Regions from separate parts of the Homo sapiens genome. Here region 2 is linked to region 1. Evidence: promoter capture Hi-C in 16 types of primary human blood cells and fetal thymus (Javierre and others, 2016). All regions are on one chromosome and are shown on one strand. The core of a region is centred on a gene start or on the middle of the fragment in contact, and the rest is flanking DNA. Distances in the headings are between cores, read along the strand shown.

Region 1 (7,434 bases), core at 1,739-4,238:
GATGAGAGATAAAACAGTCTTAACTATTCAGCTTAATTTAACAAGTATTCGAGTTCCTATAATATACTTAACAGGTGAAAAAAATTAAATGTATGCAAATACAAAATCAGGTAATGTTAGAGGCTCCACTTTTTAAAACTAAGTCACCAACTCCCTATAAAAAGAACATTTCTTAAATTTATAAAAAGCCTGAATGGAAAGAAAATGTAAAACACAAAGCAAATAACTAGTCTAGACTCTACTGCTGGACTGCACTAACTAATCAACCAAGATACAAAAGATAGGGCCCTGGCAGTCGTTACTCTGGGGAGCCTCAGGTATAAACTCTGCTGAGCTCTGACAAATCCTGTTGATCTGGTTAGGTCCCTGCCTCTAACTCTTTTCACTACCATCTCACAGAACTTTATTGCTCCATTGCTCTTCTGTTCTAAGTTGGTCATTAAGAGTAAATATGAAGGGACATGAGGCACTTCTGACTAAGACCAACTAGTTAAAGGTAGTAAAATCTAAAATAAAATCCATTTCTTCTAACCCTTAGGTACATCTCTCAACATACACAAAAAGCTATTTTGTATTGGGCGAGTTTGACCCAATCTCCTAGCATTTATCTTGAATACAACAGTTCTCAAACTTGAGTGAGCATAAGAATCACAAAGGGAGTCACTTTAAAATCCCCTTCCCCCATGTCTTTGGGCAAAAGAATCTACATTTTTAATAGACATCCCAGATGACTGATGAGTGGTGTACAACCACTTTTAAAAACAGCTGCTGCTCTATCACTACTTAACAAATAGCCTCTGCACTCAAGAGTGCTTTGTTTTATAACACAGAAACGTTCACACTGTAACAAACTGGATTTTGGGAAGTGAATTCTATTTTCCCATAAGTAGACTTTAAAATTTTAAAGATACATTATTCATTTTGAAGGCTGGGAGTGATTTCTTATACTTTCTTCTATAGGCCACATTCCATGCTTTTCCCTTCCTCATCTTCACCACAGTGGTTAAAGATTTAGAATTTAGAAATCCTTTTAAAAGAGCATTTTTCACCCCAATTTATCTTTTTTATTCGTCAGGAATGCGAGTATTTGAAAAGTTGACTTGTAAACCTTACTTCTGAAACCACACCTTGAAAATGCCAAATATCTCTTTAGGAAAGAAAATGTTTGTACCAAAAAGGTCCACATTTAAGGAAAATGCTGCTATTAAATAATGCTTAGATACAAGGTACTGAGAAACAGCGAGAATTTTATTATTTTTCAGAAAAAGAAGACACTTTTTTAAAGTACCTATGGAGGATCATCACCAAGTAAGAAATGGCACTTCTAGTAATGCACTTGGGCACAGTAAACACAGTCCCAGACTGAAGCCTGGTGAAGTGAATTCTAGGCTCAGTTTTGCCACAAAAGAGCCATGTGACTTTGGGAAACAACCTCTCTGGGTCTAAGTTTAATTTATAAAATAAGATAGTTAAATAAAAGTAACACTTTGATTCTAGCAGCTTAATTCACTGGGAAGTATTTACCTCAAAAAGCATTTGAGGTATGTAACACCTCTAACGTGTTTGATCAAATGACATAATTAAAACTGAACTGGAAACTTGATATTGTGAATAACTTACTTAGGCTGTTCTCGTAGCTATCAATTACATATCATTGTACTTTGCTTCTTCAAAAAAGCTGAATACTTTGAACGTCTAATGTTCACATATTGAGTTTTCTTAAAGTCAGGTACGTATGTACCATAGTCGTTTTGTAAAAGGAAAGAATGTATCTTTTCAGTCCTTTTTCCCAACCCATTGTCATTGCAGACTGAGAAAAAAACAGCTTGAAGTCTTAACCACCAAAAGCAACAGTGCTGCAGTAATTACACCACAAAAATAACATTTCATTCTTAATGAATACTCAGTCTCCTGAGATTACAGTTATCTTCTGGTAACCAACTTTATTCTGTCTGCTCTCATTCGTTAGTGCAAACATTTTCAATTTTAACCCATATTCAGTTCACAAATCATACTTATTTCCAACGGAATATACTGAGTCCAAAAAAAAAATTCCCCAATAGTCCAACAGGAAGCAACACATGCATTTGGCAATTCCAAGGAGGCTGGGGACTCACAGATACCTCGTTCAAAATAAATAAACTTTCCAAGGATTTATTTACCGACGGGAAAGGCAGGTTTGAAAACAACCAGTTAACTTCACTCCCAAGTTGGCATCTTAGAGAATCTTTGTGCGTTTGCAAAACACCCAGGACCTCTGAGCCTCCCAGCCGAGAATTGGCCAGGGGAGCACACGCCCATCGGCCCTGCCGGGAGAGGAAACAATGGGAGAGGCGCGAGGGAGCAAGCCGGCGCCCCGGGCGCCCCAACTCTGCGGCCCCGGCCCGCCCCGACCCCACGCGCCGCGCCCCCTCCCCGGGCGCCCAGGCCCCCCAGGCCCCCGCCCCCGAGCCCCGGGACGCGGCCCACCTGCGGCGGCGCGGGGAGACGGCTGCACTTACCAAACAGGGTCAGGGCCATTGTAAAGGCGCTCGCCGCCGCCCGCGAGTCCAGGCGCTCCTCCCAGGCGGGCTAGGGATCACCTCATCAGCCCGCCGCACCCACACCTCGGAGAGAGTGGGGTGCCCGATGGGGCGTGCTGGGGGCGCCGGCGCCCGGGGAGGCTGCAGGCCGGGACGCGGGGGACCGCTGCAAGAAAAAGTTATTCACGCGTTATTGTCGGGCGCACCGGGCCCAGGGAGCCCCGCTAGCTCTCCGCGAGCCGGCACTTGTCGCTGCCATCAGGCGCGGAGCGTGCGCGCGGGAGGAGGTACCTGCGAGGCAGGAGGCTTGGCCGCGGCGCAGTGGCTGGCGGAGAGGCGGCGCCGCACTGGCGGCGGCGGCGGCGGCGACGGGGAGAGCAGCAGCAGCCTCGCACAGCCCCCGGCGGGGCGCGCTCACTCCGCATCCCGCGGCCTCGCAGACGCCATCTTGCGATAGCGTCTCCCACGAGCTCGGCCGCGCCGCTGCCTCCCGCCTCTCCCTCGGGCTTCCCGGTCGAGTGCGTTCCCATGGCAACGGGCGCGCGCGGGGGTAAGAGGGTGCGCCCTCATTCCCGCGGCTGCGAGGAGCCACCAGCGCCCCCCTGGAGGCGGCCGCCCGGAGCGGGATGGAGCGGGGCCGGTGTGCGTTTTAGCTGAAAGCCCAGGTTTTTTCTTGAATGGAATTTGAGGAGGCGCAGAGAGGAGAAAAACGCTGTTACTCGAAAGAGGAAGAGTCACAGGAGGATGCTGAGTGAACGCAGCGCCCAGGCAGGGTCATCTGGGGACCTGGTGCGTGTGAGAACATATTTCTTCTCCTGGCGCCCTCCAGGCTCACTGTGGCTGGAGCCGGTGACCTGAAGCTGCAGGGCTCTGGTAGGAACAGAGGCACTGAAAGCTGCATTCCTCTCCGTTTGGACTTAGGAGCTGCTAGTAGTTCTGATGAAATTGACACACATTAGGAAAAGGAGTCGCTTAAAAAGCATCTGAGATTACCTAAGATAATTTGTTAAAAGACCAATGCTTACACCTGATTTTCTTCCCTTTACATTATACCTCTTTGATATTGTCTCAAGGAAAAAAAAATCAGCATGTGTCACTGACTGGCACTTATTTGCCACAAAAGATTGTTCCCCTGAGCTTCTTGTATTTATCTGATAATCACTGGCAACGTCCTCCTTTCTGTGATGTTGTCTCCTCACCTCTGTCTCTGCCATGAGGAGCCATACAACGCCTTGAGATTGTCAGCCAAAAGATGTTCTTGAAAAGCTGGGTTATATGTTTTTCGTCGTTGTCGTTTAATGTATTCAAAAAGTCATTCTTCTCTAGTTGCTATATGTGTTCCCTGTTTAAGAAATTCCTTCTTTTTTCTTGTTTCTCTGCTTAGGGATTTGATACTATTTTGGTATCTGATCATGTAGATCTTCTCTTTGGTTCTCCTTTCTTTCTACAGGCGTCTTTCCTCTTAGTTCCTCAGGTTCCCTAGTGTCTTCTCTCCCATTTTCAAATAATTCTTTAAGAATATTATAGAAATATCTTGTATTTAATGTATCTTAGAGATCGAATCCTGATAAAGTGGGAGATTACTACAGTACTTCCAATGGAACCACAGTTAATTCACCATCATTATTTCAAAGCAGACTTAAGCATCAGAAGAAAAGCAGGTTGGAAGGAGGAGCCAAGCCTTTTGTTTCAAGTCAGTTAACTCAGGAAGAAAGAAATATTAAAATGATTCAACATGAATGGGCAAGTGTTTAAGATGCTATATGTTTGGAATTTTGTGATGTAAAATGGCTCTCTTTAGCCACTAATCAAAATACATCTTTAAAATCCCCAGAATTTAAAATCTTTCATGAAAATGGACTCTTGATTTTGAACAACCTTTCTGCTCATAAAAAATTACAAACACACAGCTCATGAAAATAAATGAGAAACTCAAGAAAGCTTTGTGGGATAGATTTTATAACCATATAAAGATTGCTGCTAATCTGCTCTGCAGCCAAATAAATCAGAAACCGAAGACTCCATTTACTGTTTCAACTAGTGGTCTTCAACATTTTTGGACCAAATTTCCTTTTGAGGCTCTAATGAAAATACTGTCCCTCCTCTTAGAAAAGTGCTTGCATACATACACACATTCACCGGAAATTTTTCACATAATTTCAAGGGGATTATGGGCTATTCAGGGACCTTAGGTGAGCCCCTGGAAGTGTTTTTTGTAATCTCAGAAAGTTTTTGCCTTTATAATTTAAAGGAAAATATTTTCCTTCAGAATAGAACCATTGAATTTTGAATAGGAAAAGACCAAAACTCCCATGATTTATAGGTAAAAAAATTGAGTTCCCCGTAAAAAGATTTTCCCAAATGTGTTCACCTATTTAGTAGCAGAACCAATGGGAAAATCTTAGATTTCTGGTGTTCTCACCGACCACCTTCCCTACCCACATCCCGCATCAATTTAGAGGTTGCATGGTTTGAATTTCAAAAGAAAAATCTGTTTAGTATTAGAAGCAAAATAACGAGAGTATTTTGTCCTTAGCCATTCTGCATAGAGTTTGGGAAGTTGCATTTTGTCTCAAAGAGTTTTTATTAACATGCCCTTCTACTCAGAACTATGTGTCCCATCATGCTAAAAGAGAAACAATGCCTTTCTCTCCTCTTTGTTAAGCTCTGTTAGAGCATCAAGGTTTTGGTGCTGCAGCTCAGCTTGCTAGTAGCTCTCTCCATCCCTTGAGGGGTTGTCCTGGGAGTGAGACAGAGAGAAAGGAGCTGCCCTGCACTCAGATTTACCCTCCCATCATACAGCCGGCCTTTGGTTACTAGACCAGCTTTCCACTCACTAGTTTGGCCAAATACAACTGAATCCTAGTGAAATACCCTGCTTAAACTCAAGTGAAGATCCTTTTCCTCTCCCCTTTCTACTCGCACACCCACGTACACACACACACACACAGCTGTTTTTAAGGTACAATTTGGAACAAAACAGTGTGAATGTTGCTATGTTTCCCTTTAAAGCATCCTGCTTTCCACGAGCCATTCCTTTCAACTGACTTCCAAATGGTTTGATGCTCTAACAAAATGCTCTCTATACTTGATCAAAGTGCCTGTCTTGGAAATAGTATTGGCTTTTAAAATAGCGTATTTTTTTCAATGAGCTATTCCTATTCTATTGCATGTGCTTCTTTTCTCACTTAGCTGAAAATAAAGCCACAGCCTTTCAGCTACAGAGTCAATGCAAGGAAGGGCGTTAACTGCTTGGAGGTGATTATTACGGGTGGTGACTTAGATTGTTTATAAAAGAAGGGCAAAGAATGAATTGACTTCTCAAAATATTTATGTTTTCATTCAATGATTTCATTTTGTGCTTAACATGCAAGTGCTTAGAAGAGCCAGATTTGTTTATTCGTTACTAACTAGCTGTCAGATTTTTAGACAAATGTTTTACTGTTTCTAGTTCTTATCTTCCTCCTTTGTAAAATGAAAGGATGGTACTAAGGTATCTCTAATGTCCCTTTTAGGTTTATCTGTCATTGTGTGATATTTTAAAATCTTTAAATTAACTGGTTTATGGATAAAACAGAGGACATTTTTATTTGAATCTTCAATATATTTAAAGTGCTGTTATATCTAAAGTTCATAAATACCTAATGTAATAAAGAAGTCATATTTTGTCAAACCAGTGGTACTGCTATTTCTTCTGCAATGTGTTGTACTAATAATGTTATATTAATCATGTAGAAAGCAACCTTTTTCTGGTTTAACAGGATTAAAATTAAAAGTGTGCACTGAACAACCCATTTCAAATTTACTAAAACAATTTCTCATTTTTATTTAAGTTTTGTTGACTAAACAGAACCTAGACAACCCTTTAAAATGGTTTTCCTACATTTTAAACTAATGACTTATCACAAGTGTTTTGAATTTCTTTTTGTTACCCATTTAGCTTCATTCCCATTGGTAAACATTGATTTGTTCCTCAGTTTTCAATGAAGCAGAAATTAATGAGGCGGTTTCTGCCTCACAATAACAAGTTAAAATTATAGTACTTTGTCATGTCAACACAGCTTTAAACACTAGGAATACCAGTGCTATTAGCACAGTTCCCAAAATAGTGCAGAAGTTTGCTAGTGAAGAGAAAAATGTTACACAGTATACTTCTGCTAAAGTTAAAATTAAGAAAGTTAAAATTATTTAAATATTCACAATATGTGACATTCTCTCTATCCCATATTTATGTTACTAGTTACAGTGTTTGTTTCCACTGTGTGAATTTGTTTAAAGTGGATTTGTTTTTGTTTTGAGACAGGGTCTCACTCTGTCACCCAGGCTGGAATGCAGTGGCACAATCTCAGCTCCCTGCAGCCTTGAGTTCGTGGGCTCTAGCAATCCTCCTACCCCAGCCTCTGGAGTAGCTGGAACCACAGGTGCATGCCACCACACTCGGCTAATTTTTGTATTTTTAGTAGAGACAGGGTTTGCCATGTTGCCCAGGCTGGTCTGGAACTCCTGAGCTCAAGCAATCCACTCCTCTCAGCCTCCCCAAAGTGCTGTGATTGCAGGCATGAGCCACTGTATCCAGCTATTTGGTCTGTTTGGTTTTTTGTTTTTTTTTTTTTAGACGGAGTTTCACTGTGTCACCCAGGCTGGAGTGCAGTAATCTCAGAGCTGACTGCAATCTCTGCCTCCCAGGTTCAAGTGATTCTCCTGCCTCAGCCTCCTGAGTAGCTGGGATTACAGGCATGAGCCACCACACCTGGTTAACTTTTTGTATTTTTTAGTAGAAATTGGTTTCACCATGTTGACCAGGCTGGTCTTGAACTCCTGACCTCAAGTGATCCACCTGCCTTGGCCTCCCAAAGTGCTGGGATTACAGGCATGAGCCACCGCGCCTAGACTATTTGGTTTGTTTTTAACA
Region 2 (7,434 bases), core at 1,748-4,247, 200 kb before region 1:
TTAAGAGAGAAATAGACAAAATGGAATGTATTCAGAGATGAATGACCATCATCAGTTGTCAAATATACAAAATACACATGGAATAAGGGTGATGTCAAGAACACTGCCAATGGGAGAGAGTTATGAAATAAAAACAGGCAGATTTCTATTGTACACAGAAGGGCTTCATAACTGTTACATCTGTCCACCAGTGGACTGGCTGCCTCTGGAAGCAGTGAGTGAGCCTTGCAGCAACTAAATATTTCAAAAAGAATGTTTTATAGAAGACAGTCTAGCTGCATGACCCCTTAGAATATGTGCAAACTCTAACATCCTACCGTTCTCAATATAAAATTATAAGTTGACTTATTCAACAAATATTTATTATACCTATTACGTAAGTAAGGGACTATCACAGGTACTGTGGGAAAAGGAACATGAGCAAGAACTCCTCCCTTTAAAAGGGATTCCGGTGAAGTAGGAAGACAAAACGTAATTACAACCTTCCAGCATGAAGGAAGGAGGCAGTAAAGATGTCCAAGTAGAGGTGATGGGAATCAGAGGAGAAAGATGGTCTGCAGCTGAGAGGTCCAGGGAAGAGCAGATGGCATTAGAGGAGGGCCTGGAAGGATCTGGAAAATGTGAACATTGTCCGAGAAGGAAATAAAGACTCTAAGCCCATAAAGATCTAATTAAAAGCTCTTCTACAGTATGTCTAGTTAATTTTACACAGAGAAACTTGAATACAAGAAGATTAAAACTTAGCAAAAGGGGCAGCTCAGTGGCAGAGCTGAGGAAATACTAACAAGTTCTCCTTCCCAGGCTTCTCTTCCAGAGATTTCAAGTTGCTTGGGACCAAGAACCCTGGGCTTTGAGTTGATCTCAAGGTTACACACTGAGACATGTAGCTTTTTGAAGCTGCTCTGGGAACAGAGTTCTCAGAATCCTTGGCCAGAGGAAGATTTCTCCCCTCATTACCACAGGGAGCTCAACTTTGGCAGTGCTGTTTCCATCGTGACCAGGAAGCATCCATAATGTTGGGTTACTGGAGGCTCTGTGACAAGCACCTGTCCTTTTATTCTAGGGCAGCAATGTCTTAACTGCAGGGGGAGGGAGTAAGGAAGGTGGGGGTGAGTGAACACAGACTTCAGGTGGGTTCATCAGGGAGTTTCCAGGGGCTTTGGAAGAACTTCCAGCTGTAGCATGGGATGACCTGGCCTTCTCCACCCTTGCTTTCCTTTTTCATTTCTTGCAGTCACCCCCTTCCAGCTTTTAAGCTACAGGTTCCTCCAAGAAAGCTGCAAAAGCAGAGCTCAAACAGCTTTTGTAGAAGAAAGGTTTAATGTAAATTCTGATATTTTGTTGGCAAAGGATGCTAATAAATGCCAGAGACATTTTTAGGAGCTGAGAGAGAAAAAAAATTTTGGAGAATATATCCGCATTAGGAAGGATCATTTAACCCTGTCCCTCGTTTGAAAGGGGTTCTTCCTTCTTCCCTTGTGTAAGTCTCATTCCCTGTTCTATCAAGTGAGCCAGGCAGTGTGACAGAGTGGGTAAAGCAAGGGCTCTGACCTTAGAGGTGTGTGTGAATGCCATTGCCGCCGCCCCTAGTGAGCAATGTGATCTTACACAATTTACTGATACTCCATCACATCTCCTTTCTAAAATTACATCATGGATGTAAAGTGCTCGGCAGGATTCATGGCACCTCGTCTATGCTCTATAAATGTTAATTTCTCTCATCTTCCTTGTCTGCCTTTTAAGAGAATGGCCGTATCTGCACATCTAAAGAATGAAACAGACTCTACTGCCAGAAGAGAGTGTACAAGGACACAATATTCCACAAACAAGATATCGCTATTAAACATGTACAACAAACGTTTATATTATATATTGGTATTATGCCAGGGTTTTTGGTGTCATTCATAAATCAGACATCCAAATAACTGAAATTATAAGGAGAAATTTCTACCTTGATTTCCGAAAGTTTCTTTCTTATGATGTGGTTTCCAGAGTTCTCTGAGGGGTGAGATAAGGGGGCTTGCTAATTTTGGACAGGAAGGCTGTTTCAGAAACTCCATAACGATGACAAATGATTTGGAAGGATAATAAAAAGGAGAGATTTTCTTCAGCAGCTAAGGTGGGTGTGGGGAAGGAAGGAGAGGTCATTTGGAATTGTGGGGACAAAGGCCTCGAAGTCCAAGAGGAGGCTTGGCTTTTACTTCTTCCTAGATATGGCGGTGTGTGGAGTTCAGAACCTGGGTTTGCATCACTGCTTTGTCCTCTGCTGATTGTGTGCCCCAGAGTTAGGCATAGAGCCAAGCTTCAGTTTTACTTCCAGAGTGGAAGCTTACCCACTTTCAGTGGGATCGGAGTCCTCGGGATCAGAGCATACTGTGGACTAGGCAGCTTTTCACGGGCTATCTGTGTGTGTGTGTGTGTGTGTGTGTGTGTGTGTGTGTGTGTGTGTGTGTGTGTGTGTGTGTGTGTGTTGCTTTCTAGATGAGTGGCAATCAGACTTAACTGGAGAGGAAATGTCTGCCCCATGAGACAAGGACATGTGAGATCCCTCATACAAATTTTCATGATCAGCACTGCGTCCATAAGAGACCTAGAATTTTTCATGCTTTCTAACCTAATGCTTTGAAAGAAATCAGTGTAATTCTCACAGCTGTTCTCTACATGGGAGCTTGAGCTGACCCACAAGAAATCAGACCTCCATGGAACTAACCACAAAAATCCTCTACAAAAGCCCTGAGAGGGAAACTAAAATTTAGAACAAAGAAAGATTGTACTTCATGAAATTCCCAAGTCAAAAAGCAAATTAGTGTTACTAAGGAAGTGATGTTATCATCTAAAGATGAAGACAACATATGGTTTTAAAGAGAGAAAAGCAAAATGACAGAAATAGCCTATCTTTTCCAAAAAAACCAGTAATGCTAATACTTAAAACCAATAAGAATTCCCTTCTTTAAAAAATGAAGTGTGAATTACAAGTATGATTTTTACAGCATAAATGAACTTTGACAAATAAACCTTTGCTTTTTCTCATTTTCATTTCAACTAGAATTTACAAAAACTTCTTGATATAAAATAGTGCTTTTTAAAGTACAATGTGTGGGCCAGTGCCAGTTTGCTGTTAATAGTCTGAGTGAACTTATACAAGCACAGAAACTGAGAATAAGAATTTAGAAACATATAGTAATCTGATAGAAATTTTATGTTTGCTGAATTTAATAAAAGATAGTTGGTTTTTTGTTTGTTTTTGTTTTATTTCTTGAGACGTAGTTTTGCTCTTGTTGCCCAGGCTGGAATGCAATGGCACAATCTCAGCTCACTGCAACCTCTGCCTCCCGGGTTCAAGCAATTCTCCTGCCTCAGCCTCCTGAGTAGCTGGGACTACAGGCGCGTGCCACCACGCCCAGCTAATTTTTTGTATTTTTAGTAGAGATGGGGTTTCACCATGTTGGCCAGGCTGGTCTTGCACTCCTGACTTCAGGTGATCTGCCCACCTCAGCCTCCCAAAGTGCTGGGATTACAGGCGTGAGCCACTGCCAGCCTGGTTTTGTTTTTTTAATTTACTTTTCCAGTTATTCATTTTTATTTTATTTTACAAAAGCATTGGCTTACATCTAAAGAGCACTGGTATAAGCCTTATTTTGGAAAATGAGGTTTAGCACATTACAAAGAAGCTTCTGATGGTATTAAGTCATAAAATAATCTACGTTAGAGAACAATGCAAAATTCTTGTAAGTACATTAACCATAGAGAGAGGCAAAGGGGAAACATTTCATAAAATGCATTCAAGTTAGCCAGAAAACCAGGAAGGTGATTACCAAGAGGACGTTGTCAGGTTATTTGAAATACATGCATTCATACTTACTGGCAGATTCTATAAACTTAGGGTAGGCATCATATGTAATGAGTGGAATTGGCAAATCCCTGAAGTACAGTTTAAGTGCACCAGTGATAATGTTGATATCTTCATACATGTTCACAGAAATATCTGCCTTCTCACCATCTTTTAAGGATGTTGAAAGAAATAAAAGTAAATATCTGGATTCACAGCACTGTTTTAATGAATGACATATCTGTATACAAATCAGATTTTAAAGATTAGCAATTCTTCAGTTTTTAACGTAAAATTTAGTGTGCTACGTTACATATTAATGATTAATTTTCTGTGAAAGAGCCTCTTCTGATCTCCAGCATGCCTTACCTGCCCTACTAGACAGGTTAAACTCCCCAGTTATTAATATTTTCCTTTATAGCCCTTATTAAAATAAAATCAATAGCCACTGTGTGATTATTATTTAATGTGAGCCCTCCATGAGTGCAAGGACCAAGCGTACATGGTTAACCATCATATCTAAAGTGCTCGGCAGGATTCATGGCACCTCGTCTATGCTCTATAAATGTTCTAAAGAACATGGTGCCTGGCATATAGTAGCTGCTTAATATTTTTGAGTTAACCAATCAATGGAAAATAGATTTAAACAAGCTAGGGGCCTAAAAGAGTAACATGCCGGGGCTTACTATGTACGTTGTTATTAAACTGGTTCTTTTAAAACCTGCTTTTTAGTAAGTATACACAAATACACAAATATATTCTTCCATCTGTATTATCTATTTACTTATTTTCTGTTTTAAAATAATGTAAACAAATCCTGGAATCTGATATCCACATACTACATTCTAAGTAGGGCTATACCATATCAGCAAGACGTCTATAACATCTCTGTTTCCTGATTGTTTCTTTACTTTCTGCTCTTGCCTCCAGCAGACTAGGATTCTTCTGGGGTAAAGCTGATGAGATTTTATTTGTTTTGACCATGGATCTCTCACTGTACCTGTCACATAAATATCTGTGATTCCACCAAAGGACAAAATGTAGCAGAGGTATAATGGCAACTGCTGACCTCAGAATAGTCAGCTTTCCATTCAGTCACTATTTCCTAAGCTGGGGAAGATTTCCCCAAACTTGCCTTTTCACCTTGGCTCTTAAATGAGTTCATTCCAGCATCCTATGGATATTGTCTTCTTTCTTGGATCTCATTACTTGAGGTTTATGCCTCTCAGAAGTGATCATCCTTAATTACTCCAAATTATTTTGCTCTGTTTATTCAAAGGTATAGGATTATTCCTTTGAACATGCATGGAATTGGGCAGCATTTATATATAGAACTGATTTTAATGATCCGAGTCACTGGTTTCCTGTAATCCATGTTAAAATCCTTTGCATCATTACTATAGATCTTGCAGATGAGTGCTGGTACACATCCTTGGGAGGCCAAAGACTGGCCCCCAGCAGTGTGGCTACAGGGAGCCAAGGTGAGCTCTTCATGAATTTTAAAATCTGTTACTGGTGTTTTCAGGTCACAAAATGGTTGTCTCATATTTTCTATACAGGAAACTGTGTCATTTCTTTGCTCTCTGGGGTCCATAGGAACATTCAGTTTCTTTGTCAGTGTGAATTTATTTTTGAGACTCATAGCCAGAGGCTGGGAATGGACATGCTCAGTTGCAGAGCTTCCAGAGTAAAGAGATGCTTCTTCCCATTCAATCTGGCAGGGATTCAGGACTGCTCTTCCTGATGCTTATTTGGAGTGAATACACCATTAATTCACCTCCCTTTCTTTGCTCTTATCACATACATGGGCTGGCCTAGTTTCCCTCAGGTTGGTAATGAATATTTAATTACTTTTGCTTTCTGCCTCTGTTGCCTACAAGAGGTCTGTGAATGGGAGAGGTTTGTGTGATAGAACTAGAATACGTACTTGCAAAGGAAAGTGGTTCTTTAAAAGATCACTAACTCTTACTCCTTTACTTCCTGTATTCAAGGCTACAGGTCTTCTTTGGAACCACCTTGTTCTAGTCCTTGAAGCAAAGACAAATTGGAGAGCCATGGAAGCAAATCTTAATTTAAATGTTAGCTAAGAAAATTAAGCTCCACTGAGCTTTTCTTTGACTGGGCCCCTTCTCCTACAGTGGCTGATGGGTCCCCCACAGAAGGCCCCTAAAGCTTCTTTCAGCTTTCTGGCCCCAAAACTTGAGTCCGGGCTTGGGTCTCACTCAGCTAATCGAAGATGGTGATGAGGATGCCAGCGGGGCATGGATGACAGGCAGGGTAAGGTGGGTTAACTCAAGCCTGAGAAGCCTGAAATCTGTAATGGTATAGATCCTACTCTTTTCTCTATCATTTTTGGTGAATGTAATTGCTCTGTATGTATTTTGGTGAACATGGACCAGCCTTGGATACTCAAATATTGGTAACATAGTTTAATTTTATACTTCTTTCATATTCTGAAATTTGACTGTTTAATACTTACAACTCAGAAAAAAGAAGAAATTATAAGCTAAGTTTTTTAATTTGGTATAATAATCATCAATGATTTAGAAAAATAATGCAAAAAATACCTCACAAGAAATTGTGCCTTTTTAGAAAAGAGTATTATTGTCCTAAGTTATGGAACATTGTGAAAAACATACCTCTGTCGAAAGCCATCTTGACATCTTCAATTAGGTCACTAAATCCTGATACTCGGTATAGTCCTTCAGAATTAAGACCTGAAAAATAAAACTAGTTAGTTTCTTTGAATTATGCCTTTTCTTCAGATTTTAACTCCTCACACTTTAAGCTGGGAGGTAATGTGTCAGAAGAAATAAAATATACATGTTTAGAAATCTTTTCACACTCTTCTCCTAGAATAAAACGATTTCACACACAGTTCTTTAACTCTTACCTATTGTCACCTGAATATCATCTGGCTCATCATTTGGTCTAATTAAGTGAAATATGTTAAGTCTTAAGGGAAATAATTCATCACCCCAATTACATCATAAATTCTTTTACATAACAGAAGACTAAGATAAAATATAGGCCTGTTTTTCTCAAGTGGGAAAGAATAATTAGGATGCAGCTCTGTTTTTGGCTTTATAGATAGTTTTAGTAGAGCATTTATACTTTTGCTTTTTGAACCAAAGAAAAATTTAAAAACTGAAAAATGAATTTGTCTTTACCTGTCAACTTTTGCAGACTGGAAGCATCATCTATAAATATATTTTTATACAAGCACATTGGCTACACTTAGTTAAATGTACCTTGAAATCAAGCTATTTAATTGTTAAATTAATTCATTTCAGTCTTTGAGATCATTTGACATATGAAACCATTCCCCTCCAAATTACAGAAGACAACCGTATTGTGCAATGAGGTACCCAAAAGGCATCAGGATTGGTACTGGTAGTGAACGGAGACCACTGCAACCCGCACTGCAAATGGCTCACCTCTAGACTCAATCTCCCTGATGCACATGTCTACCACCATTGGCCGCTTAGTGGTATGTGCTTTCACGAGCGTCGTAAGGTCACAGCTGTACACCTTTTTGACATGCTTCAAGTCTGGCTTACAGTCATTTGGGACCATCTTGGAACACTGCTTATGAACATTCAAAC

Evidence for each region. Contacts are between HindIII fragments. The CHiCAGO score rates a contact against its expected background, and 5 or more counts as called.
Region 2: a fragment that was not itself captured here is called in contact with the fragment with the promoter of CHN1 in region 1 in 1 of 17 cell types (naive CD8 T cells); the score reaches 5.1 in naive CD8 T cells.

What each region holds. Positions count from the first base shown.
Region 1 is chr2:175,002,393-175,009,826 of GRCh38, forward strand. CHN1 (chimerin 1) reads right to left here and starts at 2,989. Exons shown (of 13, transcript NM_001822.7): 1 at 2,502-2,989. The coding sequence starts at 2,520. RefSeq lists an enhancer at 2,159-2,705 and a silencer at 2,690-2,749. The HindIII fragment of the contact is 4,598 bases long and covers 1-4,461 here.
Region 2 is chr2:174,805,043-174,812,476 of GRCh38, forward strand. CHN1 (chimerin 1) reads right to left here. Exons shown (of 13, transcript NM_001822.7): 9 at 7,267-7,434; 10 at 6,469-6,546; 11 at 3,863-4,000. Among named protein-coding and RNA genes, the nearest start is that of CHRNA1, 44 kb to the left of the region's middle. The HindIII fragment of the contact is 1,343 bases long and covers 2,327-3,669 here.